4 separate regions of the Homo sapiens genome follow, and regions 2, 3 and 4 are each linked to region 1. The links are contacts of gene promoters, found by promoter capture Hi-C in blood cells and fetal thymus (Javierre and others, 2016). All regions are on one chromosome and are shown on one strand. The core of a region is centred on a gene start or on the middle of the fragment in contact, and the rest is flanking DNA. Distances in the headings are between cores, read along the strand shown.

Region 1 (6,917 bases), core at 37-2,536:
TGTTTCATATAAATGGAAGCATATCATATAAAATATATGGCTCTTCCACTTAACCTGATGTTTTCAAGGTTCACCTATGTTGTATCACGGAGCTGGTTTCTTTCTAACCTTCAAGTCTCAGCTCAGATGTTACTTTCTCAGTGAGGCCTTCCCTGACCACTAAGTGCAAAGTGAACCTCCTTTGACTCACTCTCAGTTGTATCATTCTATTTCCTTTACAGCACTTATCACAAACTGTAATAATCTCATTTACTTTGTGTCTGCTCATTTGTCATCCATTTCTGCCACAGGAATGTAAGTTCCTTGAGAGCAGGGGCAATGTCTGTTATGCTGACTGCTGTGCCACACCTTTTTTTTTTTTTTTTTTTTTTTGAGACTCGCTCTATCACCAAGGCTGGAATGCAGTGGCGTGACCTCGGCTCACTGCAACCTCCGCCTCCTGGGCTCAAGCTATTCTCCTGCTTCAGCCTCCCAAGCAGCTGGGATTACAGGCAAATGCCACCACACACAGCTAATTTTTGTATTTTTGTAGAGATGAGGTTTCACCATGTTGGCCAGGCTAGTCTCGAACTCCTGACCTCAACTGATCTGTCCGCCTCAGCCTCCCAATGTGCTGGGATTACAGGGGCCTGCCACCATGCCCGGCTAATTTTTGTATTTTTAGTAGAGATGGGTTTCACCATGTTGCTCAGGTTGGTCTTTAACTCCTGACCTTAGGTGATCCACCCACCTTGGCCTGCCAAAGTGCTGGGATTACAGGCGTGATCTACCCTGCCCAGCCTGTGCCATACCTTTATGTACTTGTCATATGTCAGCACCTAGCACAGGGCCTGGCACATAAGAAGTGCCCAAGAACCCTTCATGGTCGAATGGGTAAATGAGTGCCCCTTTCTCCCCTACTCCCGAGACCACCCTCCATACCTGCTCCTTTAATTTCTGGACTTTCATGTCCTGCCTCAGTCGTTCCAGTTGTTGGCTGGCATCTGCTAGCTCCTTCTGCGTCTGCAGCAGTGTCTCCAGGAGGGATACTCTCTCCTTCTCTGTTTCCAGCTGCATCTGTGGAGGGGTAGGGGGGTAACAGCTTGTGGGCTCAGGATTACCATGCTCACCAACGAGGCCACAAGCACATCCCAGCTGCCCTAGGGCTCTCCTAGCAAATGGGAAGGGGCTGAGGGCAAAGGAAGGTCTGAGCCCATGGGTTCAGAACAAGGAAGTGCAAAGATTACCACTGGTTTGCAAGCTGACAGGATGTGGTACATGTCAGCCCTCCCTCAGGAAGTATGACATACTGCCGGAACTGTGGCTAATGGTGCGGACCACCCTGCTCACTGTTAGCAAAGTGGGTAGCTACCCTCTCTTCTGGAAGCCCCTCTGCAGCACTCCTCTTGGGAGTAGAAAAGGAAGTGGTCAAGGTAAGGAGATCGCTGACTGGACGTGCAGCTCCAATCCTCCTAGCTTCCCACCTGGCATAGGGCACTCTCTGCCTGGGTCCGTTCTTCTTCCCTCTGGGCCTGGATGGCCTCCATTTCTGTCTGCTGCTCCTTTAGCCTCATTTCCAGCTCCATTTTTTCCCTTTCTAAGCTCTCCAGAGCCTTTGCCAGCTCCTGCTGGTGCCAGGAGCGCTCCTTCTCCTGGCCACATGAAGGAAACACCATTAGAACCAAATGGGTGAGGAGGGGAGGCAGGGGTACTGGATTGGAAAAACAAAGTCTCTCTACTACTCACTAGTGGGGTGACCTTGGTACCTCTCTAAGCCTGTTGCCTCATCTGTAAAGCAAGGCTAATATTCCCTGCCTTATCTATCTTACCAAATTTCATGACAACCAAATGAGATTCATTTTAAAAAATAAAATTATATAATACATGTGGAAGTACCTTCCAAACTGCAATTGTCCCTTATATATGCTACAAGTATCTGGGTTTTAAAATGTATTTCTATTTTTAATTTTTTTTTGGAGACGGAGTCTTGCCCTGTCACCCAGGCTGGACTGCAGTGGCACGATCTCCGCTCACTGCAACCTCCACCTTTCAGGTTCAAGTGATTCTCCTGTCTCAGCCTCCCTAGCAGCTGGGACTACAGGTGCCCCCCACCATGCCCAGCTAATTTTTGTATTTTTAGTAGAGATGGGGTTTCAACATGTTGGCCAGGCTGGTCATGAACTCCTGACCTCAAGTGATCTGCCTGCCTCGGCCTCCCAAAGTGCTGGGATTATAGGCATGAGCCACTGTGCCTAGCCTAGGCATTCTTATTTTTAGAGATGGGGTCTCACTATGTTGCCCAGGCTGGACTCGAACTCCTGGGCGCAAGTGGTCCTCCTGCCTCAGCCTCCTGAGTAGCTAAGAACACAGGGGCATGACACCACACACAGCTCCGTATTTGTTATCTTTAAAGCAGCCACATTGTGGTTGACAGTTGTAACAATGAACTGAGGCGGCCAATTCTGGCTGTCTGCTGCCTGCTCTCCTCTACTCAGAGTTGCAGAGTTAGCCCCTGAAGAATCAGGCCTGGCCCAGTGAGGATGTCTCCCTGTATTATATAAGAGCATTAGGATAGGGGTGCTTCTTGTCTTAGCGGTCTTCCAGCAACCAAAGCTTTCCCAAGCTCTCTGACTAGTTCAGGACCCTCTATTAGGTGTACAGGATAGAGGTGAAGGGCTCTGGAGTTGGGCTGCCTGGGTGGAGAATCTTTAATCTACCACTACTAGCATGATCTCAATTTCTAAACAACTCTGTGCCTCAGTTTCTTCATCTATTAAAATGGGGATAACAACAGTGTCATTCTCCTCAGGTTGTATTGAGGATGGAGATAAGTCATGTGAATCACTTTAAATGTGCGTAGCACACAGAAAGCGGGCAATACACAACAGCCAGCATCATCATCACATTAGTATTCCCTGCACTTTTCCTTTAAAATGCTTGTAAGTTTGTCGTTGCTTATTCATGTAATGGGAACGCCTCTAGTGTTTCAGCCTTCCCAGTGTCATCCTGTGCAGCTTTCCCCCTCATTCACTACACCCTGGCTACACACACTTGCCTCCTTGCAGGTCCTTGAGCACACTAAGCACTTTTTTTTTTTTTTTGAGACAGAGTCTCACTCTATCGCCCAGGCTGGAGTGCAGTGGGGTGATCTCGGCTCACTGCAACCTCTGCCTCCCAAGTTCAAGTGATTCTCCCGCCTCAGCCTCCCAAGTAGCTGGGATTACAGGCGCCCGCCACCACTCCCAGCTATTTTTTTTGTATTTTTAGTAGAGACATGGTTTCACCACGTTGGCCAGGCTGGTTTTGAACTCCTAACCTCAAGTGATCTGCCCGCTTAGGCCTCCCAAAGTGCTAGGATTACAGGTGTGAGCCACTGCACCCAGCCAACATGTTCATGCCTTAGAGCCTTTACTCATGCTTCCTTCTACCTGGAAAGCCCTTCTCCCCCCTACTCCATCATTCCTCACGCCTAAACTAACACTTCCTTGGTGAAGCCTTCCCAGACCATACAATTGACAGTGGTCTGGCTGGACGTGGTAGTTCACATATATTATCCCAACATTTTGCGAGGCCGAGGTAGGATGATCACTTGAGCCCAAGAGTTTGAGACCAGCCTAGGCAACATGGTGAAACCCCTTATCTACAAAAAATGCAAAAATTAGTCAGGTGTGGTGGTTCACTCCTGTGGTCCCAGCTACTTGGGAGGCTGAGGTAGGAGGATCACTTGAGCCCAGGAGGGCCTTGAGGGTGAGGCTGCCGTTAAGCCCTGATCACGCCACTGCACTCCAGCCTGGGCAACAGAGCAAGACCCTGTCTCAAAAGAAATAATAATAATAAAAAGAAAAAAAAGAGGTCTTCCTTTGTTCTTCCTTATAAAACCCGGCAATGTGTAATGTCAGTTACAGGACAGTCATGAATGACAAATCATTTTACCCTCTGGTTCAAAAAGCCAAAGACAGCGGGTATAGCTCAGTGGCAGAGTATGTGACTGCAAAAAGCCAAAGCCAACTGTAAAAATATGAAAAAGATGAATGTTAATAGCAGTTGCAAGTGTTAAAAAAACTGATCTATTTGCTCTATGTGAGTTAGAAGTGTGTTATAGCTACAAGAAGAGCTAATTCTGTGATGTGTAGGAAGTAACAGTCCAGCATTGCTGGTATGACCATGAACAGAATATTCTGCCCAGTTCAAAGTGCCACCTTTACACCACTGGGACATGAGTAAATTGTAACATGCCTAGAAGAAAGCAACCATGTTGGTGGGGTATTTCAAGCAAATCTAAGGCTCATTTGTTCCTGGTAATAGGTTTTGGTTCAACATGAATTTCCTAATAACTAGATCTATCTAAAATAAATGGGCAGCCAAGTGATGGAATACAATAGCAGCTAAGCAACCATTTGGAAGGGACATTACAGAGGTGGATAAAAAAGAAATGGTTAGGAGTTTGGGCCCTGAATCCCTTTTCTACCCCTTATTAGCCATGTAACCCTGACTTCTCTTTTTATATTTTATTTATTTAGAGATGGGGATCTTGCTATGTTGCCCAGGCTGGTCTCGAACTCCTGGCCTCTAGCGATCCTTTCGCCTTGGCCTCCCAAATTGTTGGAATTACAGGTGTGAGCCACCACGCCCAGCCCTGAGTGACTTCTCCATGCATTTATTCACCTTTATTGTGTGAATAAAGCATTCAGCATGGTGCTTGGCATGGGGAGGTGCTTAACAAGTGTCCAATATCATTACTCTTAAAGGGGAGACAGACAGTAGATGGAAGAATAAAGAATACAACTGCCAAGAGTGTTTCTTTTTCTTTTTTTTCTTTGAGACAGAGTCTCACTCTGTTGCCCAGGCTGGAGTGCAGTGGTGCGATCTTGGCTCACTGCAACCTCCACCTCCCTGGTTCAAGCAATTCCCCTGCCTCAACCTCCCAAGTAGCTGGGATTACAGGTGCATGCCACCACGCCTGGCTAATTTTTTTGTATTTTTAGTAGAGACGGGGTGTCACCAGGTTGGCCAGACTGGTCTCAAACTCCTGACCTTGGGCAATCCGCCCACCTCGGCCTCCCAAAGTGCTGGGATTACAGGTGTGAGCCACCACGCGCGGCCTCCCAAGAGTGCTTCTAATTGCCAGGATTCCAGGAGAAGGCAGTCACTGCTAAAACGAACAGGCTGTCGAGAGTTTTAAGAGGGCAGTTGACCTGCTCAATCATAGAGAAATAATAAAGTGGGACAATCAGAAGTCAGGAGGATTAGCTGAATGACAGAAAAGGAAAAGAGAGAAAAGGCCCTTTCATGACCCAGATATGGCCACTATAGTCAATCCTTTTAGGGAAACCAAGGCCACGTAGGTAGCTGGCTTATCATTCAGAAGTTTTATAGCATCTTTTATTTATGGAGTTTTCAGTACATGGTATACATCTGATTCCTGCTAGAATCAGTGTTCATTCAACAAATACTTTTAAGCACCGACTATAGACTAGGCACAGAATTCCAAAAATAAGCAAACTTCTGGTTATCATCTTGCCAATAAGCCTGCCTCATAATAACAATCAAATTACAAATACACATAAAGCACAAGTCAACTTCCATTTCCAGATACTTGATAAACAAGATCTCTGAACCCTCCAGCTACGAAATCGCAAAAAATGCTGGATAAAATATTAAATATGTATTTTAATGTATCACAGAACCAGCAGGAAAATAATAAAAATTCCACAGAAGCCAAAAGCAAAGCAAGACTTGTGGTGTAGGCCAGGTGTGGTAGTTCATACCTATAATCCCAGCAGTTTGGGAGGCTGTGGCAGGAGGATTGCTTGAAGCTAGGAGTTCAAGACCAGCCTAGGCAACAAAGTGAGATCACATCTCTACCAAAAAAAAAAAAAATTAGCCAGGCATGATGGTGCATGCCTGTAGTCCTAGCTAGTCTGGAGGCTGAGGCAGAAGGATTGCTTAAGCCCAGGAGCTTGAAGCTTCAGTGAGCTAGAGTTGTACAGTGCAGTTGTACAACTGCACTCCAGCCTGGGCAATAGCAAGACCTTGTCTTGAGGTCAGGAGTTCGAGACCAGCCTGGCTGATGTGGTGAAACCCAGTGTCTACTAAAAATGCAAAAATTAGCCAGGTGTGGTAGCATGCGCCTGTAATCCCAGCTACTTGGGAGGCTGAAGCACGAGAATTGCTTGAACCCAGGAGGCGGAGCTGAAACAGCACCACTGCCTGTGCAACAGAGCAAGACTGTGTCTCAAAAAAAAAAAAAAAAAAGTAAATCCACTATCTTTCACCCAATGCAAATGTAATTCAGAATTTAAAATAAAAATAAAAATAAGCCAGGTGGCTGGGCGTGGTGGCTCACGCCTGTAATCCCCAGCACTTTGGGAGGCCAAGGTGGGCAGATTACCTGAGCCCAGGAGTTCAAGACCAGCCTGGGTAACATGACGAAACCCCATCTCTATAAAAAAAAAAAAAAAAAAAACTTAGCCAGGCATGGTGGTTCATGCCTGTGGTCCCAGCTACTCAGGAGGCTGGAGAGGATCACTTGAGCCCGTGAGGTAGAGGCTGCAGTGAGCCATGATTGTACCATTGCACTGTAGCCTGAGTGACAGAGCAAGACCCTGTCTCAAAAAAAAAAAAAAAAAAAAAAAAAAAAAAAGCCAGGCAGACGCTGTAGTCCTAGCTACTTAGGAGGCTGAGGCAGGAAGATCACTTGAGCCTGGGAGTTTGAGGCTGCAGTGAGCTATGATTGTGCCACTATACTCTAGCCTGGGTGACCAGAGCAAGACCTTATCTCTAAACAAAACAAGCAAACAAACAAAAATCTGGACTGGGGTTAACAAATTATAGTATGTGGACCAAATCTGGCTCACCACCTGTTGCTCTCTGGCTATGAGCTAAGAGTGGTTTTTACTTTTTTTTTTTTTTTTTGAGACAGAGTCTCACTCTGTCGC
Region 2 (6,448 bases), core at 1,919-4,418, 370 kb before region 1:
GAAGGGAAGGGAGAAAGATGAGAAGAGGGGAAGAGGGACAGAAAAGACTCATCTAAGACCTGTAGCTTCAGGTCGGTCAAATGGCTCAACAAGACACGGCCTGAAGTGTGAGGAAGCAAACCAGAGAAGACTGTTGAACTCTGAGGCTCTTCCTGTGTTCCAACTTCCCAATGGGCCAATATTATTTTGTTCCAACTGGCAGAACTTGGAAATCCCACACATTCCAAGTTAAACATAAATACAAACAGGCTGGGTGTGGTGGCTCACGCCTGTAATCCCAGCACTTTGGGAGGCAGAGACAGGCAGATCACTTGAGCTCAGGAGTTCAAGACTAGCATAGCCAACATGGTGAAACCCTGTCTCTACTAAACATACAAAAAATTAGCCAGGCATGGTGGCACATGCCTGTAGTCCCAGCTACTTGGGAGGCTGAGGCACAAGAATCACTTGAACCCAGGAGGCGGTGGTTACAATGAGCCGAGATCATGCCACTGCACTCCAGCCTGGGAGACAGAGTAAGACTCCATCTCAAAAAAATAAAAATTAAAATATATATAAACAACCCTCTCTAAATAGCTCAGATCCTGTTCCCAATCAAGTCTATACAATCTAGGGTGCTCAAGGAAGGCTCTACAAATCAATGAACTTATTCCAAGTAATGTTTTAAGGGGATGTGAACAATATATGGGATACTTGGCAAGTCTTCTTCCCTTTGATACCGTATATAAATAGGAGCTGACTGTACAGAACTTGAGTGTTTCCCAAACTCTTCTTACAGTATAAGTCATCTGGGAAGCTTGTTAACAATTCATATTCCCAGATTCCCATCCAGACAGTCTGACTGGAAAAGAACTGAGGCATGGCTGGAATCTGTTTTCACAAATGCCTTGGGCAAGGATTAACCATAAACTTAGAAAACATCCCTTCTATATTAAATTTATCCTACTCATTATGAAATCCTACACTTATAAAAATATAAAAACTGAATGTCCTTGTTCTTATCTCAATGGAGTCATGTGGCTTCAAAGGAGCAGTCTGCTTGTTGGGGTACAACTACTTCTGTACATACCTTCTGGAGGGTATAAGCCAGGGCATGAATACCTAAAGGAGAATTAGTTTCAAAACACTCAATTCTCATACATACTCTTTCCTAAACTGAGCTAAGGACATGTCAGATTTCTGCCTAAGGACATGTCAGATTTCTGCCAGTTTACATTTTCCACCTCTCCTTGTATAATAACTGCCTTTAACTGCCCTTCTCCCACTTTACATAAAAGGGCCTGCCTCTCACTCATCCCACATCTTAACATGGTGCTCAGCCTGGAGGTTTAAAACTTCCAGATTTTCTCAACTGGGGTTCCCCATCTGAACAGAGATATATTTTCTCTGTTTTCCTAAGGGTGGTATACAGCTAGTACCATTCTCAATGCACTAAGGTCAATCCATCACAGATCAAGGATGCCTTGGGTATTGTGGCTTCTCTCCCAAAACTCAGTTGAGAAAGCCAGTGAACATAAAGTCAGTGCTGTCCAACAGAAATATACTAAGAGTGCAAGCCACATGTAATTTTATTTTATTTTATTATTTTTTGTTTTTTTGAGATGGAGTCTCGCTCTGTCACCCAAGCTGGAGAGCAGTGGTGCGATATCGGCTCACTGTAACCTCTGCCTCCTGGGTTCAAGAGATTCTCCTGCCTCAGCCTCCCAAGTAGGTGGGATTACAGGTGCATGCCACCACGCTCATCTAATTTTTGTGTTGTTAGTAGAGATGGGGGTTTCACCATGTTGGCCAGGCTGGTCTCGAACTCCTGACCTCAGGTGACCCACCCATGTTGGTCTCCCAGAATGCTGGGATTACAGGCATGAACCACCATGCCCGGCCAATTTTTGTATTTTTAGTGGAGACGGGATTTCACCATGTTGGCCAGCCTGGTCTCAAATTCCTGAGCCACCACGCCTGGCCAATTTTGAATTTTTTACTCATCACATAAGAGGGTTTGGTTTTTAAGTGCCAGGCATGGTGGCTCATGCCTGTAATCTCAGCACTTTCAGAGGCCAAGGCAGGATTGCTTGCTTGAGGCCCAGAGATTGAGACAAACCTGGGCAACATAGTGAAACCCTGTCTCTACAAGAAATAAATTAGCTGGGCATGGTGGCATGTGCCTGTAGTCCCAGCTACTCAGGAGGCTGAGATAGGAGCATCGCTTGAGCCTAGGAGGTGGAGAATGGAGTGAGCCACAATCACGCCACTGCACTCCAGCCTAGGTAACAGAGTGAGACCCTGTCAAAAAAAAAAAAAAAAAAAAAAAAACACAACTTAAAAAGTTAATTTAAATACTATTTTATTTAATCCAGTACTTTAAAAAAAATTTTTTTTTTAAACTGGGCTCAGCAACCTTCCTGCCTCAGACTCTGGAATCGCTGGGACTACAAGCACGTGCCACCACTCTCAGCCAATTTTTTCATTTTTTGTAGAGATGAGGTCTCACTATGTTGCCAAGGCTGGTCTCGAACTTCTGGACTCAAGTGATCCTCCCTCATCAGCCTCCCAAAGTGCTGGCATGATTACAGGGATGAGGCACTGCACCCAGCCTCTAAAAACATTTCAACATGGAATCAATTTTTTTTTGTTTTGTCGCCCAAGCTGGAATGCAGTGGCCCGATCTCAGCTCACTGCAACCTCCGCCTCCTGGGTTTCAAGCAATTCTCTTGCCTCAGCCTCCTGAGTAGCTGGGATTACAGGCACCCACCACCAAGCCTGGCTAATTTGTCTTTATATTTTTTCAGTAGAGACGGGGTTTCACCATGTTGGCCAGGCTGGTCTCAAACTCCTAACCTCAAGTAATCCACCCGCCTGGACCTCCCAAACCACTGAGATTACAGGCCCAGCCGTAATCAGTATTTTAAAATCGAGGTGTGTTACATTCTTTTTTTGAACTAAGTATTTGAAATCTAGCATTTACTTACACTTACAGCATATCTCAATTCAGACTAGCTACATTTCAAGTAGTCAATAGCCCCATGCAGCTAGTGGCTACCATACTAGACAGCAGAGGTCTAGGCCCTATTTAGGCCTACAGACAATTGCAGCACCCTCAGCTCTTGAGGGCAAAACCCAGTTACAAGCACTACAGGGAAAGATCCCTTATTTCATATAGAGACAAATCAACCTATTATATAATTTCCTATCTTACAATGAGTACTAATACACTTATGTGAAGTAAGTTAAATTTTTTTCCACAGAAATTAAGTCTGATAGTCTGATTTGATAAGGAAGACTGGCTTTGCATTCTCTACATCGTTAGGGAATAATGAAAAGGTTTGCTCTGTAGTTCCACAGTTTTGATGAAAATATTTGTGTGTGTGTGTGTGTGTGTGTGTGTGTGTGTGTGTGTGTGTGTTTTGAGATGGGGTGTCACTACATTGTCCAGGCTGGTTTGGAATTCTTGGGCTCAAGCAATCCTCCCACCTCAGCCTCCTGAGTAGCTGGGACAACAAACATGCACCAACGCACTCAGCCTTCATGTTTTGTATTTTAAATGTATCCACTGCAGCTATTTAAACTTGTGAGAAAAAGATAAATACTGCTTTAAAACGTGCTAGGGGATTCACAGTTTTTCAACTGAACACATAAAGAATGCACAATCAAGAATGTCTGAAGGTCACTGCACATATTAATCAATGGCAGGCTCAGTCCAGAGAACCGGGGGGGCCTCTTCATGCCATTGAATTGATTTGGAGAACGAGTGTTTGGCTTAGGAAGAAATCAGGGCTTGTTTCATTCTTGGTTATTCTAGAAGAATTCCAAATTTTAAGTTTTTTAATAACTGCATTCTTCCCTAAATCTATACCCTCTAACCTTGACTCTTACCAATTAGCCATCTCGGCTTTTTATTTAGACTGTGAAAATTTCTAATCAATAATCACTCTCCAAGGAGCTCAATTTCAAAATGCACCCATGCTTTTCTAGTTTCAATGTTCCTTTGTCCCCATCTCCTTCAGAAGCCCATACCTTTTTACTATTACTTTTCTTTCATGTCTGTCTCATTAAAACTCTATTTCCTGATTCTAGATTCTATTAAGCTGACTTAAACTGAGATCATTTGAAAAAGCATAAGCAAAAGGCCTCGGTTTATCAGGTTTTATCATATAAGCTGAAGTATCTAGTCAACAGTTAACCACTACTTTAGCAAACTCAGTTATGAACATGCTTCCCAACTTAGATTCACTTGGATATGTACCTCACTTAAATTCAGCTTCATGAACACAACTTGTTTCCAGATCATAAGACAATTCAAAATCAGTCACAAAAATAAACGATTGACGTACACAAGTTACAAAGAACCACAAAGGGCCACAGAAGAATACTCTGGCATTGCCCATTGCAGAGCCCACTTAAAAAACTCACCAGTAGGAGCTATGGAAGGGGGTCTGCCTCGTTTTCTTTTGGGTTCCCTCAAGTTTTCTTGTGGACTCTTCACAATGTCATTTTCAGGTTTCTTATCCACTTGGGCATCTCCAGAATACTCTCTGTCATTTTCGGAAATGTTTTCCTTGTCTTCCTTCTCGTTCTTGGGAAGACTTTTCTCTGACACTTTCCCCTTTTCAGAACAGATTAACTTTCCTTCTTTATCAGGCTGCTTGGGTCGCTTTTCTGTCTTTAAGGGTTTATCTTCTTTGTCTTTCTTCACATTCACTGTTGCTTTTCTCTGTTCTTTAAACTTCTCTCGTTTATCAGGAGATGATGAAAGACTTTTGTGATCTGTTTCTTTAGGCCTAGCATTACCCACAATATTCTAAAATGAGCAAAATAGCGATGAAACACTTCGTGATTACTTGCAAATACAAAATTAGGAGTTTCTTACAAACTTATGAAGACAAACAAAGAAATTAAAACAAGACATACGCCAGATCACATATACAAAGCACCACTGACAACAGCCACCTGTACTGAGTTGAGAACCAATCCTTAAACTTAAAACAATTCAATTATTCCGGAGACAGTGCAATCTCCCTTATTATGACGAATAAGTCACTAGAAAATAAAATTCTGGGTTTTTGTTTGTTTTTGTTTCTGAGACAGAGTCTCTCTCTGTTGCCCAGGCTGGAATGCAGTGGCACAATCATGGCTCATGCAGCCTCGACCTCCCAGGCCCAAGCGATCCTCCCATCTCAGCCTTCTGAGTAGCTGGGACCACAGGCATGTTTCACCACACCCAGCTAAGTTTTTTATTGTTATTTTTTGTAGCAATAGGGTCTCCCTATGTTGCCCAGGCTGGTCTCAAACTCCTGGGCTCAAGCAATCCTCCTGCCTCAGCCTCCTAAAGTATTGGGATTGTAGGCATGAGTCACCATGCCTGGCCTTAAAATTCTGGAAAGCAATCTTTCTGACAAAGGTGTTCGAAGAAAATGCCTTCATGCTCTGTCCTTATCCCCAGCATGACTATACTGACCCAGAGCTTTTCAGAGGCCTGGTTCAGTTTGCCAGCAAATGCTGATGTCTTGTCTATAGAAAAACAAAAACTGATAACTGGAAGCTTAACAGGAAAACTATAAAGATTATCCAACCCAGAACCAGGGTCTCTGCTTTCTCTATCAGGTAAAGGCTGTGCTCAGTTCAACAAGCCACCTACTATGTTCCTGAGCTACTTGGAGTTTTTGTCTATTGGTAGGAAATACCGCTTCTTAGTTATGTTCTCCCTAAATTACATTCTTTAAAATTCACACTAAAAATCGAGGGTCCTCTATTGTGACTGTTTCATAATAAGGCCAGGTCTGAAAGCTCTAGAGATTCCAAAACTATAATTAAGTTTATTTGTGTACATATCTCTCTTCTAGGACCTCAAAAGAGCAGAGACCACCATACTATGTTCATATGGGATGCCCAGCACCTAGCACACACTAGGCACATAGGTTTTCACTGGAAGCAGGAAGGAGTACCTAAATACTCAACAAATAAAAGTTTAATTTGTTCTACAGGGAAAAATAATAAACAAGGAAATATTTTTTCAAGTCCCCCAAACTATTCTGAAAGCAGCCAGGTTTGAGAACAGGCATTCTCGGTAACAGCCAGCAGAAATATAAACTGAAATTGCCCTTCTTGTTGGGAGTTCAGGGAGGAGATGGCAATTTGAGTCAAAACTAAAAAGGTTATACCTTTGAACTAGAATAAATTCCTAGAAATAAAATTAGCTAAAATAATAATCAGACTTGTGTACCTGGATTTACAAATATCCTTAATGACCATTTGGGAATTGGTTACACAAAGTAGTTACATACATATTACAGAATACTACATAGCTGTTAAAAATTATATTCTCAGAATATTAAGGAACATGGGGAAATGTTAGTTAAAAGAGCAGTACTATATTAATGTACCACAACTCCAATTTTGAAAATAAATAAATACACACACGTACGTTTAATAAAAAACACAGAAAGATGTATAC
Region 3 (6,720 bases), core at 3,585-6,084, 410 kb before region 1:
TCACAAGAACTCAGGTTTACACTCAGAGACAGTGAGGTCTGGAGACCTGAAGAGAGTCCAACAGTGACTGAGGCAACAGATGGGATTCACAACCCATGTGCCCAGCTCCAAAACTTATGCTTTGCAGAAGCATCATTCTGTCCTTACATATTATTTAGCAAGAGAGTGATATAATCAGGTCTGTACTCTTAAAGATCGATCCGATGGCAAAATGATGGATAACCACAGTGAGTAAAGAATGATGGGAGGAAAACTGATTAAGAAATGACCACAACAACCAGGGCAAGAGAAGAAACCTAGATTAGTGCCATGGGACTGAAAAGGAGATTAATTTGGAGGTAAGTCAGATAAAAGGAAACAAACAAACATTAAAATCCTCTCAATTACATTCATTATTTCAAGTAAAAAGCCCAATCCTTTATCTTGGTATCTCTCTGCAGTTTCTTACATTCTTACTGCATTTTTACCATTTCCAAGTATATGTTTTAAGCACACTTTTTTTTTTTTTTTTTTTAGACAGAGTTTTGCTCTGTCATCCAAGCTGGAGTGCAGTGTCACGATCTTGGCTCACTGCAACCTCTGTTTCCTAGGTTCAAGCGATTCTCCTGCCTCAGCCTCCTGAGTGGCTGGGATTACAGGCACCTGCCACCACGCCTGGCTAATTTTTGTATTTTTAATAGAGACGGGGTTTCATCATATTGGCCAGGCTGGTCTCGAACTCCTGACCTCAGGCGATCCACCTCCCAAAGTGCTGGGATTTCAGGTGTGAGCCACTATGTCCGCCTAAGCATGCTTTTTATTGAGGCATAAAACATACACAGAAAAGTACACACAAATAAACACATAAACCAATACTTTTTCATAAATGAACACACCTGTATAACCACCATGCAGATCAGGAAACAGAACATTTCGGAGCCCTAGAAGACTCCCTCCTGCCCAGTTTCCAGTCCTACCCACCTCCTCCCAAAGGTAACTACTGTCCTGACCTCAAATACCATAGATTATTTTTCTTACTCATTTTTGAACTTTATATAAGCAGAACCATACAATCTGCATGAGTTTATGCTAGCTTATTTGGTTGTTGTTTTGAGATGGAGTCTCACTCAGTCGCCCAGGCTGGAGTGCAGTGGCATGATCTCGGTTCACTGCAACCTCTGCCTCCTGGGTTCAAACAATTCTCCTGCCTCAACCTCCAGAGTAGCTCGGATTACAGGCATGCACCACCAAGCCCGGCTAATTTTTTTGTATATTTAGTAGAGACGGGGTTTCACCATGTTAAGTAAGGCTGGTCTCGAACTCCTGACCTCAGGTGATCCTCCTGCCTTGGCCTCCCAAAGCACTGGAATTATAGGCATGAGACACTGTGCCTGGCCTCACATTATATTTTTAATGGATAATACAGCACATACAAAGTCTTGACAGCATAAATGAAGGTTGACCCCTCGGAGGGTCAGAGTTCACCTTAGTCTGCATGGCTCTGCCCCTGTCCTGAAACCTGATTGTATACTCTACTGGGAACACTGCCAGATGTCCTAGGAGTTCCATATACCATTTAAGACCTACACATTTTAATAGAAAACCTCTAAGCCAAGAAGTAGGTAGTGATATTACAATAGCAAGTAAAAAGCTGGGAAGATTATATAATTTATTGGAAATCCATTAATTCTTCTGAAATTCCCCTGGAAACATGTAATTTTTCAATTTCTGTAAGCTTTAGAAGATATTTCCTAAAAGGTTCTCTGTAATAAGTTATAAAATGAGATTTTATGGTAACCCCTATTATGGTTTCTATGCAAAACAAACAGTGCTATTATAAATATCTTCAGTTGCACTTAAGATGAAACAGGATTCACATTTGGACCCAGCAGTAGAATCACATATCACCTTTTGGTTATCGTGCTCTTTTGTGCTGCTGGCAAGGAAAACGCACAGGTTTGGGAGAGTGGGACGATGGCACCCATGCTGCTCTGAGCACGAGTTCTCCTGCTGGCTTCTGAATAAGGTCCCTTTGCTTGACTGTCCCCACTCATACTGGAAGCAGCAAGGCCTTCAGAGGCTAAGCGATTTTTCAAGGTAATTCTCAGTTAGGTGTTCCTGCTTCCTGTAGGAAGGCCACAGCTCCGTGGCACAGCCCAGAGGATCACTTAATATGTTCAGTCCTGTGGGATTCAACTGGAACAGACAAACCTAATGCCTGCTTTGTGTGTCAGAAAACACAAGCACTGTGGCCAAGCAACTGAGCCATCCATGACACAATGAAGAATGAAGATACTTACTTGGGGAACTGGCAGAGACCCGCTTCCTGGTCAGGGTCTCCTGGCTGGGCTTGTCTGAAGCTGAAGGGCCCCTGGTTTGGACATGCCTCTTTCCCGGGCTCTCTTCTGGCTCCAGTGACTTCTCCATTCCATGGAAATACTTCATGTGATAGTGCAACAGTTTGGCTTTGCGGAAAAATTTTAAACAGTCCACAACTTTGCATCTAAACTTATGGTCTAGGTCGACAGCTGGTGCATTAGATGACCCAAAATCATCTGTTTTCTTAAAAGTATTTGTTACTGAAAAAAATAAAAACAAAAGCAAAGGTTCCTTGTATTTATCCCAGTTATTACAAAACATGCATTAACACATGACAACTGAGGGTGAAAGACTAGCGTGCAAATGTAGCCTGAGACATCAGACTGCCATTACCTCCTCAAATTACTGTTTAGAGAGAATGAAAACAACTTCAGGTCAAATAAGACTCAATTGTGATTCATCTTTAGGAAGAAGAAATCAACATGTTTATTTTAAACAGTCGTACAAGTTTTCAGGGTTTCATATACTTTAAGGAAAAATCCTTAAAAAGATAAAAATAAAAATAAAAATAAAGGATCTCAGGTCAAGCAGAGCAGCTCACACTTGTAATCCTAGTACTTTGGGAGGCCAAGGCAGGTGGATCACTCGAGATCAGGAGTTCATGACCAGCCTGACCAACATGGTAAAACCCCATCTTTATTAAAAATACAAAAGAAATGGGCTGGGCATGGTGGTTCACACCTGTAATCCCAGCACTTTGGGAGGCCAAGGGAGGCAGATCGCCTGAGGTCAGGAGTTCGAGACCAGCCTGGCCAATATGGTGAAACCCTGTCTCTACTAAAAATACAAAAATTAGCCAGGCATGATGGCAGGTGCCTGTAATCCCAGCTACTTGGGAGGCTGAGGCAGGAGAATTGCTTGAACCCGGGAGGCGGAGGTTGCAGTAAGTCGAGATCATGCCATTGCACTCCAGCCTGGGAGACAAGAGCAAGACTTTGACTCAAACAAAAAACAAACAAACAAAAAAATTAGCCAGGCATGGTGGAGCACATCTGTAATTCTAGCTATTCGGGAGGCTGAGGCACGATAATTGCTTGAACCCGAAGGCAGAAGTTGCAGTGAGCTGAGATCATGCCACTGTGCTCCACCCTGGTCAACAGAGCCAGACTCTGTCTCAAAAAAAATAAAAAATAAATAAAATAAATAAAATCAAGGATCTCAAGCTAGCACTTATGAGTTGGATCAGACTTACATTTACTACCATCCTGGTACCTATCTGTGTGGACGGAAATAGGGAACATTCCTCAGTATCTCTCTATGAAACCTAAGAGATTTTACGTCAGTTTTTGTGCAAGGAAAGTGTAACAGTTACAAAGGTTTTAGTATTGAGTCTTTGAGATTTCAACACGTACTTTGTTTTACAATATACTTTGTCTGATCAAAAGGATCCAGATTTGGTGGGTGCAGTGGCTCACGCCTGTAATCTCAGCACTTTGGGAGGCCGAGGTGGGCGGATCACCTGAGGTCAGGAGTTCGGACCAGCCTGGACAACATGGTGAAACCCCATCTCTACTAAAAATACAAAAATTAGCTGGGCATGGTGGCACATGCCTGTAATCCCAGCTACTCGGGAGGTTGAGGCAGAAGAATCGCTTGAACCTGGGAGGCGGAGGTTGCAGTGAGCCAAGATCACACCACCGCACTACAGCCTGGGTGACAGAGCAAGACTCTGTCTCAAAAAACAAAACAAAACAAAAAAAAAACACCGGGCGTGGTGGCTCACACCTGTAATCCCAGCACTTTAGGAGGCCGAGGCAGGCAGATCACAAGGTCAGGAGATTGAGACCATCCTGGCTAACATGGTGAAACCCTGTCTCTACTAAAAATACAACAAAATTAGTCGGGCGTGGTGTCGGGCACCTGTAGTCCCAGCTACCCAGAAGGCTGAAACAGGAGAATGGCTTGAACCCAGGAGGCGGAGTTTGCAGTGAGCCGAGATCGCACCTCTGCACTCGAGCCTGGGCGACAGAGCAAGACCCCGTCTCAGAAAAAAAAAAAAAAAAAAAAAAAGGGATCCAGAATAGGAGGAATAAGTTCTAGCATTCTACAGCACTATGGGGGAACTATAATTAATAACAATTTATTGTATATTTTCAAATAGCTAGAAAAGCAGATTTTGAATGTTCTGAACACAAAGAAATAAATGCTCAAGGTGACAGATTTGCCAATTATCCTGATTTAATCATTATACATCGTATACATGTAAGGAAATATCACTGTACCACATGAATATGTAAAATTATTACATGTCAATTAAAAATAATAATAAATGAGGCCAAGGCAAGAGGATCACTTGAGGCCAGGATCCTCAAGACCAGTGTAGACAACTCAGCAAGACCCCATCTCTACAAAAAAAAAAATTTTGTTAATTAGCCAGGCATGATGGCATGTGCCTATAGTCCCAGCTACCCAGAAAGCTCAGGTGGGAGGATCCCTTGAGCCCAGCAGGTTGAGGCTGCAGTGAGCCATGACTGTACCACTGCACTCCAGCCTGGGCAACAAAGTAAGACCCTGTCTCAAAAATGTATGAATAACAATAATAATAAATGCAAAACAAACAACAACAAAAAGGACCCAGAGACTGCAAGAAAAACCAGCTAACTAAATGGAGGTGGAAGGCATAAGGAGGACTCATAGGACTCAATGATCAATTTCAAAGAGACAATAAAAGCATGACCCTAAAAGACAAATAAGCAGAAGGCAATAGTCGGTCAGGCACCAATGACAAAAAGTAAACCCATCACAAGGACTTTTTTTTTTTTTTTTTTTTGAGACGGAGTCTTGCTCTTTGTCCAGGCTGGAGTGCAATGGTGAGATCTCGGCTCACTGCAACCTCCACCTCCCCAGTTCAAGCGATTCTCCAGCCTCAGCCTCCTGAGTAGCTGGGATTACAGATGCCCACCACCACGTCCAGTTTTTTTTTTTTCATAGCTTTAGTAGAGACTGGTCCAGCCTGGTCTCGAACTCCTGACTTCAAGTGATCCGCCTGCCTCAGCCTCCCAGAGTGCTGGAATTACAGGTGTGAGCCACCGCCCCCAGGCCACAAGAACCTCTTGTGTGTTAGAAATGCAGTTTATTGAGGACTCCCTTTAGAATGTCTTCCCACCAACAAAAAATCACATTAAGTCATTCCTATGCTACAGATTTGGTCACCCAAGAATATATTATATTAAATGGATCTTTTTTTAAAAAATTAGGAATTCGGTATGCAATGAATGGCCCTTTCTTGAGTTAATCAGATTTTTCGTAAACACAATCACACAATCTCCACTGGAAGCAGGTAGCCTGTTAAACCTTTGGTAAGTATTATGATTACTTTTTCAAGTGTCATCCCATAATCAGAGGTAATTTTAAAACTCTTAAATTTGATCTAAATTATACTCTACACTTCAAAATTAGGTTTGGTTGTCTGAAGGATGCTGTTATAGAGCCAATTTAAACCAACAAAAACCTATACACACACACACACACACACACACACACACACATCCCAAAGCATAATGCCTTAAAATCACTTTCTACCTATAACAAGAGATATAAAAGATGCCAGATCAATTAGTTGCAGGTAAGAGAAGAAAAAGTTGGCCAGGCGCGATGGCTCACGCCTGTAATCCTAGCACTTTGGGAGACCAAGGCAGGCGGATCATATGACGTCGGGAATTCCAGACCAGCCTGGCTAACATGGTGAAACCCCATTTCCACTAAAAATATAAAAAATTAGCTGGGCGTGGTGGCATGCATCTATAATCCCAGCAACTCCGGAGGCTGAGGCAGGAGAATCACTTGAACCTGGGAGGCGAAGGTTGCAGTAGCTGAGATCGCGCCATTGCATTCTGGCTTGGGCAATAAGAGTGAAACTCTGTCTCAAAAAAAAAAAAAAAAAAAAAAGGAGAAGCAAAAGTGACACGATGTGAAACAGAATACACACTTCTCAGACAAATAATTGGACAGGAAAAGTATGTCAGTGGAGAAGTTCAAAACACAAAACTTTAATACATCCAATTCTTTCCTAAAACAAAAAATAGTTTATTTTGGAATATCCTTCCCTTGATCTATATTAGGTTAAATCATATAAACTTGCCATTTTGTAGGCTAAAAAAGACTAAGGCTGGAACCCTGTGCAGTGGCTCACGACTATAATTCCAGCACTTTGGGAAACTGAGGCGGGCAGATCACTTGCAGTCAGGAGTTCAAGACCAGCCTGGCCAACATGGCGAAACCCCATCTCTACTAAAATACAAAAATTAGCGGGGCACGGTGGCTCACACCTGTAATCCCAGCACTTTGAGAGGCTGAGGTGGGCAGATCACTTGAGGTCAAGAGTTTGAGACCAGCCTGGCCAACATGGTAAAACCTTGTCTC
Region 4 (6,909 bases), core at 3,111-5,610, 450 kb before region 1:
ACATTTTTGGACATTAAATAGAACGGGGAAGCTGTCAATATTAAGAAGTGGGTAGAAAATGCTGTCCTTTGGGTTCCAGACCCTGCCTGCTTCGGTTTGGAATTCCTCCTAGATTCTTATTACTGTGAGTGAGATTCTAGTTCTTCCATAGGCTGTATGGGCTCTGCTACAAAAGCCATAACCCAGCCAGCTCTGGGGTGAAGGCATACAAACTTGTCCCCAGTACCATGAAGTCATGCAAGAGATGTGGTGAGAAAAGTGAAGAGTCCTAAGGAGAAAGCAGGGCAGCCAAGACTCTGCTCTTTCCCAACCTCCACAGCATGGTGAGCTCACAATATTCCTATGAAGCTAGAAAAGGAAAATGATGCCTGCTGCCCAAACACCATGCCAGGAAGAAACCAGGGAGTTGGCATGTGCCCCAACGTGATAGAAAAGTCAATTAAATAAACTCCAAATTGAATTTACAACTGTCTCCAACTAAACTTTTTTGGCTCTCATTCCGTTTATCATCAGTGGCACAATTTCAAGTGAAGTTTGTGCAAAAAGACTCTCTTCATTCAACGATGTGCACAGAAGAGGGGAATCCCAAGAGTCTATTTGCTACCTTTATGGCAGGCTTCGAGATCAGAGTGTCCTCCCGCAGCCAAAATGGCCTCTTTGTCCAATGTCCACCACACTCCTGGCCCAGATCCCTGAAGTCAGTCGGTGTCACGTGCATTCAGCATGCTAGGTTTATTTATTTAAATATGCGAAGCTCCTCCTGCAGGTGCCCCAGGATTGTGCCCCCATGAGTTTTGGGTGCCCAGTTTCATGTTGAGCAGCAGAGGGCGATCTGCTGCACCTTGCCCAGGTCCATCAGCAGCTGCTTGATACAATGCTTGAGCTGCGGAAGCCTGGCCAGCGGCTCAGGGGGCTCCAGTTCCCCAGTGTAGTCCAGCCAGCTCTCCAACACTGTCGGCAGAAGAGAGAGATGAGACCTAGTGAACTCCCAACACTTGATTTGCAAGAACATCAGCAAGCATTTCAGCACCTTATTCCATCAGACATGGGGCAAGGGAGGAAGGGCCATTTCAGCCTCCATGGGGCAAGGGAGGAAGGGCCATTTCAGCCAGCACTGTGTCAACACCTGCTCTACAAAGTGGTACTCCCAGGACAAAACACAAATGCTTTAGAGCAGCACAGTCCAAAAGAACTTTCTGCGATGATCAATGGTCCAAGTCTGTGTCATCCAATACAGTAGCCACTAGCCTTATGCAGCTATTGAGCGCTGGAAACATGGCTAATGCAACTGAGGAACTGAATTTTAAATTTTATTCAGTTTTGGTTAAACAGCCACACATTGCCAGAGGCTACTGTTACCAGAGTCTAGAAGTCTTGGAAGGAAGCACCTTTCTGAGTGTTACCACTCACTCTTTAAAAAGCTTTCCCAGCCGGGCGCGGTGGCACATGCCTATAATCCCAGCACTTTGGGAGGTCGAGGCGGGCAGATCACAAGGTCAAGAGATCAAGACCATCCTGGCCAACATGGTGAAACCCCATCTCCACTAAAAATACAAAAATTAGCCAGGCATGGTGGTGCCCGTCTGTAGTCCCAGCTACTCAGGAAGCTGAGGCAGGAGAATTGCTTGAACCCGGGAGGCGGAGGTCGCAGTGAGCCGAGATCGTGCCACTGCACTCCAGCCTGGCGACAAAGCGAGACTCCATCTCAAAAAATAAAATAAATAAAATAATAAAATAAAATAAAATAAAATAAATAAAATAAAATAAAATAAAATAAAATAAAAAATAAAAAGCTTTCCCATGTTGAAAATCAGAGAGCCTGGTGTTTTAGCATCCTGTCAAGAAAAATGAAAATCTATAGGGTCTTGAAAAGGTCTATTTGTATATCATAAACTCTGATTTGCTTCATATTAATTCCTGATTGATACGCAATCATCAGTGGCACAGAATACTCTGTTATTATTTTCTCCCTTTATTTATTTACTTATTTATTTATTTTTTTGAGATGGAGTCTCACTGTGTCGCCCAGGCTGGAGTGCAGTGGCGCCATCTCAGCTCACTGTAATCTCTGCCTCCTAGGTTCAAGCGATTCTCCTGCCTCAGCCTCCAAAGTAGCTGGGATTACAGGCATGTGCCACCACGCCCGGCGAATTTTTGTATTTTGGTCTCAAACTCCTGACCTCAGGTGATCCACCCACCTCGGCCTCCCAAACTGCTAGGATTACAGGCATGAGCCACTGGGCCTGGCCTTTTTTTTTCTTTTGAGACAGAGTTTCGCTCTTGTTGCCTGGGCTGGAGTACAATGGCAATGATCTCGACTCACTGCAACCTCCGCCTCCCGGGTACAGGCGATTCTCCTGCCTCAGCCTCCTGAGGAGATGGTATTACAGGCACACACCACCACGCCTGGCTAATTTTTGTTATTTTTAGTAGAGATGGGGTTTCATCATGTTGGCCAGGCTGGCCTCGAACTCCTGACCTCAGGTGATCCACCTGCCTTGGCCACTTTGAAAGTGCTAGGATTACAGGCATGAACCACCATGCAGGACCCCTTTAAATATTTAATGTAAGATTTCAGGTATTAATTAACATTATCATCATTGGTTCAATATCTAGAAAGCTGTCTTGCTTGTGAGAACAAGTATTTCTCTACAGAAAGATGTTTGTTCTTCCCTAAGCTACCCCCTAAAGCTCTGGCATTTGGGGAGAGACCATCTGGGAACCCTGCACCTTTGACAAGAACCACCCCCTGCAGGTAGCCCCTGTGCTATCCCAGCCTGCCTGTAGCCTTTCTAGTCCATGCACCAACCTGTACTGAGCACCTTCTGGACCCTGGAGTGCAGCAAAAGAAAGGCCCACCCAGTACCTCTTCATCAAGCAGCCTGCAACCTACTGCGCAATCCTCTCCTGTCCTCAGATGCAGCCCTACCTTCCTCTCCACCTTTCTAAATCCTCTGTTTCTTGTGAGCTATTCTTTAGGGAAGCCTTCCCCAACCCTATACCCTGAATCTGGTCCTTGTGTTACAGGTGCTATGATATCACATGTTCTCCTTTGAGCATTTACTATGGTTTGTCATTACAGGTAATGGGATGATTTGTTTAATATATGTCTCTCCCACTAGATCAAGTTCCACGAGGGCAAAGGCTGAGTCTGCCTTGCTTGCCACTATATCCCTAACACTCACCTGTGTCTGAAATGTGGCAAGCCTGCAACAAACACAGCGAGAGAAGGAATGTGTGGTCCAGCAAAGCGCCCTACCCATTGCTCTGGGCCCTATGTAGTTTATCCTCCTCCATCATATTTCTTGTTGGTATTTGGGGGTTCCAAGAAGGAGGAACCCTCTCTCTTCCTAATTCCAGCAAGTACAAGGACTTGGAAATAAGAAAAATAAGACCACCTCCTCAGACTTAAGCTTGAAAACCATTAGTAAAAGATCAGTCATGTGAGAGGAACTAGTGGCCTGCTGAGCAAGAAAACTGGATAGTGACCAGTTTCAAAACACCAGTAAGTCTTTAAAAAAAACTAGAAGGAGACAGGGGACTGTTCAGCAAACAGGCAGAAGAATAAATGGAGAGGCCGGACGTGCACGCCTGTAATCCCAACACCTTGGGAGGTCAAGGGAGGTGGATCACCTGAGGTCAGAAATTCAAGACAAGCCTGGCCAACATGGTGAAACCCCATCTCTATTAAAAATACAAAATCAGCCAGGTGTGGTGGCAGGCATCTGCCTGCTACTTGGGAGGCTGAGGAAGGAAGAGTCGCTTAAACCTGGGAGGCAGAGGCTTCAGTAAGCCGAGATCATGCCACTGTACTCCAGCCTGGGCGAGAAAGAGCAAGACTCCGTCTTAAAAAAATAAAATAAAATAAAAATAAATAAATGGACAAAAGGCAGTCAGGACTGGATGGGTCACTCCAACAGCAAAGAGAGTCAGTCAATCTTTTGCAAGATGATCCTACAGTTGCTGAGAGGCCCCTCTTAAGGTCACCCTAACTACCTTGGATCTAGTTCCAGGCTCACCAAAGACATCCCGATACTACGGTGGCCCAGGAGGCATGCACAGTGTGAAAGCGCACCAACGCTCAGACTGGAAGAGTCTAAGCCACTCAGTAGTGCCTGAGCTTGGTTAACAGGAGTGTGTGGAGTTCCTGAGATGGAAGCTGTCTGTCTAGGTCTGTTAGGCTGAAGAACAAAGCCAGGACTGTGGGAAGTCAACAGCATCTCCTCTGGACCCCAGCATCCAGCAGGCCACCCTCTCCATACCATGTGCTGCACCATCCCAAGTGTCTCTTTTAAAGATGCAGAACAGCTTCCAACTAGCATAGTGGTTGCTAGCAAGACAGAAGGTTACAGAGGAAAAAATTCTGTTCAAATACACTAAGATCATGTGTATAGAGACCACTGCTCACCAAGGCAACATTTTTTATTTAAGAAAATAATCTCTCTAATGCCAAAAGACTTTTTTACTTTTCATGGTCATTAAATATCCTTTGTCTTTTAGTTTTAAAGTACTGTTCAGGCTGGGTGCAGTGGCTCACACCTGTAATCCCAGCACTTTGGGAGCCCGAGGCAGGCAGATCATGAGGTCAGGAGATCGAGACCAGCCTGGCCAACATAGTGAAACCCCGTCTCTATTAAAAATACAAAAATTAGCCAGGCATGGCGGTGTGCACCTATAATCCCAGCTACTCGGGAGGCTGAAGCAGGAGAATTGCTTGAAGCCAGGAGGTGGAGGTTGTGGTGAGCCGAGATCGTGCCACTGCACTCCAGCCTGGGCAACAGACCGAGACTCCGTCTCAAAAATAAATAAATAAATAAATAAATAAAGTACTATTCATATAACTACATAAATAATTAAATAATGGCCAATTGTAAAACAATGGCATATATATATATATATTTCATATAATAGCTTACTAGGCTTTTTTTTTTTTTTTTTTAAAGAAATGGGGTCTTGCTCTGTCACCCAGGCTGGAGTACAGTGACACGATCATAGCTCACTGTAACCTTGAACTCCTTGGCCTCCCAAAGCACTGGGATTACAAGTGTGAGCCACCACGCCAGGTCAGCTTTTAAATTTTTTTAAATTTTTTATTTTCAGACTGAGTCTCACTCTGTTGCCCAGTCTGGAGTGCAGTGATATGATCTCAGCTCACTGCAACCTCCGCCTCCTAGATTCTGCTGCTTCAGCCTCCCAAGTAGCTAGGATTATACGTGTGCACCACCACACCCAGCTAAGCAGGCCGGCTTTTTAAAAAAGGAATGTTACATCCAAATTCCTATTTTAAAACTTGGTTATGAAAGCTTAGTTTAGGGCTGGGTACGGTGGCTCACGTCTATAATCCCAGCACTTTGGGAGGCCAAGGTGGGCGGATCATGAGGTCAGGAGATCGAGACCATCCTGGCTAACACAGTGAAACCCTGTCTCTACTAAAAATATAAAAAATTAGCCGGGCCTGGTGGCGGGCACCTGTAGTCCCAGCTACGCGGGAGGCTGAGGCAGGAGAATGGCGTGAACCCGGGAGGCGGAGCTTGCAGTGAGCTGAGATGGCACCACTGCACTCCAGCCCGGGCAACAGAGCGAGACTCCATCTCAAAAAAAAAAGAAAGAAAGAAAGCTTAGTTTATCTTGGTGTTTAAATAAAGAGTTGATTCCATAAAAAGGGATTTTGATTAATCTTAAATACTATGCAAAAGTCTGTTTACCTAAATAAAATCTTTAAGCTTTATCATTTATTTTAATGCTTTCTTGTTATCTCTCTCAGGGCCTAGAGTCTTAGAAATGTACAGAATATGTGGCTCTGAATTAGCAAGACACACAAGAGGTCATCTGTGAGGCCAAAGAAGGGGGTTCAGGCCTACCATCCTTGCCACACTGCCCATTCGGCAGGGCTAGAGAGGCCAAACCTGGCTGAAGAGAGGATTAAGGAAGTAAGATGTGAGTAGACTTTAACTTCTCCCTCAGGGAAGGTCCCTGTGGCAACAACCGAACATTCACCCTGTTTCCATGGTGCTAATCCTCTTTTCAGGGACTACAGAGCCACTCCTACTGCCATTCTCTCAAGAGCTACACTTTTTTGTCTAACATTATATCCTCCTTCAGCTCTCTAATAATATGTTTTTCACAGACAGTGGCATCAGTTACAATCCCTTTTTTTTAGTTTATTTTTTTAGAGACAGGGTCTGTGTTACACAGGCTGGAGTACCGTGACATAATCACAGCTCACTGCAGCCTCCAACTCCTGGGCTCAAGCAGTCCTCCCGCCTCAGCCTCCCAAGTAGCTGGGACTACACCCCTACACTTGGCTAGTTTTTTATTTTTTTGTAGAGACTGTGATGCCCAGGCTGGCCTCAAGCAATCCTCCCACCTTGACCTCCCAAAGTACTGGGATTATAGGTGTGAGCCACCACACCCAGCCTAGGTCTTGCTGTCTCTCTCACTGTCCTCCAACAGGGCAACTCTTTTTCCAGTCTAGCCAGATCATCCACCCTGAGTCCTCTCCAGTAGGAAACACCATCACTCTCCTTAAAGCTCAACTTCAGTCTCAGGAGTTTTAGGAAGCCCTCCTATTAGCACTCTCCTCCTCTGCATTGACATCAGCCACATGTGTCCCGGCCACACCTCATGGCATCACTTGTATAACAGATGGCATTTTCTCCTGAGTTATTTCATGTATGTTTTATATTCCCAGTTACAGTAAAAAATCATAGCCAGACTGTACCCAGAATCCTCAAACAACATTTCTTTTTTAACTGGGCTCCATTTTCAACATGAAAACAAATAATTAGGGAATATTTCAACAACCAAAACCGTCAACTTCCTGGAGAGAGACTGAACTTGATCATGTTCATCATCACCGGTTTGATCCTCCAGGCCTGTCCGTAACCACCAATATCTGGAAGGAATACT

What was found. Contacts are between HindIII fragments. The CHiCAGO score rates a contact against its expected background, and 5 or more counts as called.
Region 2: a contact is called between a fragment that was not itself captured here and the fragment with the promoter of CEP250-AS1 in region 1, in 1 of 17 cell types (naive B cells). The highest score is 5.2, in naive B cells.
Region 3: a contact is called between a fragment that was not itself captured here and the fragment with the promoter of CEP250-AS1 in region 1, in 2 of 17 cell types (activated CD4 T cells and naive CD4 T cells). The highest score is 5.1, in activated CD4 T cells.
Region 4: a fragment that was not itself captured here is called in contact with the fragment with the promoter of CEP250-AS1 in region 1 in 1 of 17 cell types (erythroblasts); the score reaches 5.3 in erythroblasts.

Annotation. Positions count from the first base shown.
Region 1 is chr20:35,485,351-35,492,267 of GRCh38, reverse strand. It overlaps CEP250-AS1 (CEP250 antisense RNA 1), which reads left to right and starts at 1,286. Exons shown (of 3, transcript NR_184017.1): 1 at 1,286-1,412. CEP250 (centrosomal protein 250) reads right to left here. Exons shown (of 35, transcript NM_007186.6): 21 at 1,464-1,631; 22 at 922-1,056. RefSeq lists an enhancer at 1,328-1,487. The HindIII fragment of the contact is 5,140 bases long and covers 1-2,594 here.
Region 2 is chr20:35,861,360-35,867,807 of GRCh38, reverse strand. PHF20 (PHD finger protein 20) reads right to left here. Exons shown (of 18, transcript NM_016436.5): 6 at 4,408-4,795. Among named protein-coding and RNA genes, the nearest start is that of SCAND1, 90 kb to the left of the region's middle. The HindIII fragment of the contact is 4,740 bases long and covers 799-5,538 here.
Region 3 is chr20:35,895,208-35,901,927 of GRCh38, reverse strand. PHF20 (PHD finger protein 20) reads right to left here. Exons shown (of 18, transcript NM_016436.5): 10 at 2,280-2,558. Among named protein-coding and RNA genes, the nearest start is that of SCAND1, 56 kb to the left of the region's middle. The HindIII fragment of the contact is 6,235 bases long and covers 1,717-6,720 here.
Region 4 is chr20:35,941,527-35,948,435 of GRCh38, reverse strand. It overlaps PHF20 (PHD finger protein 20), which reads right to left. Exons shown (of 18, transcript NM_016436.5): 18 at 1-951. The coding sequence ends at 809. Among named protein-coding and RNA genes, the nearest start is that of SCAND1, 9.5 kb to the left of the region's middle. The HindIII fragment of the contact is 1,890 bases long and covers 3,416-5,305 here.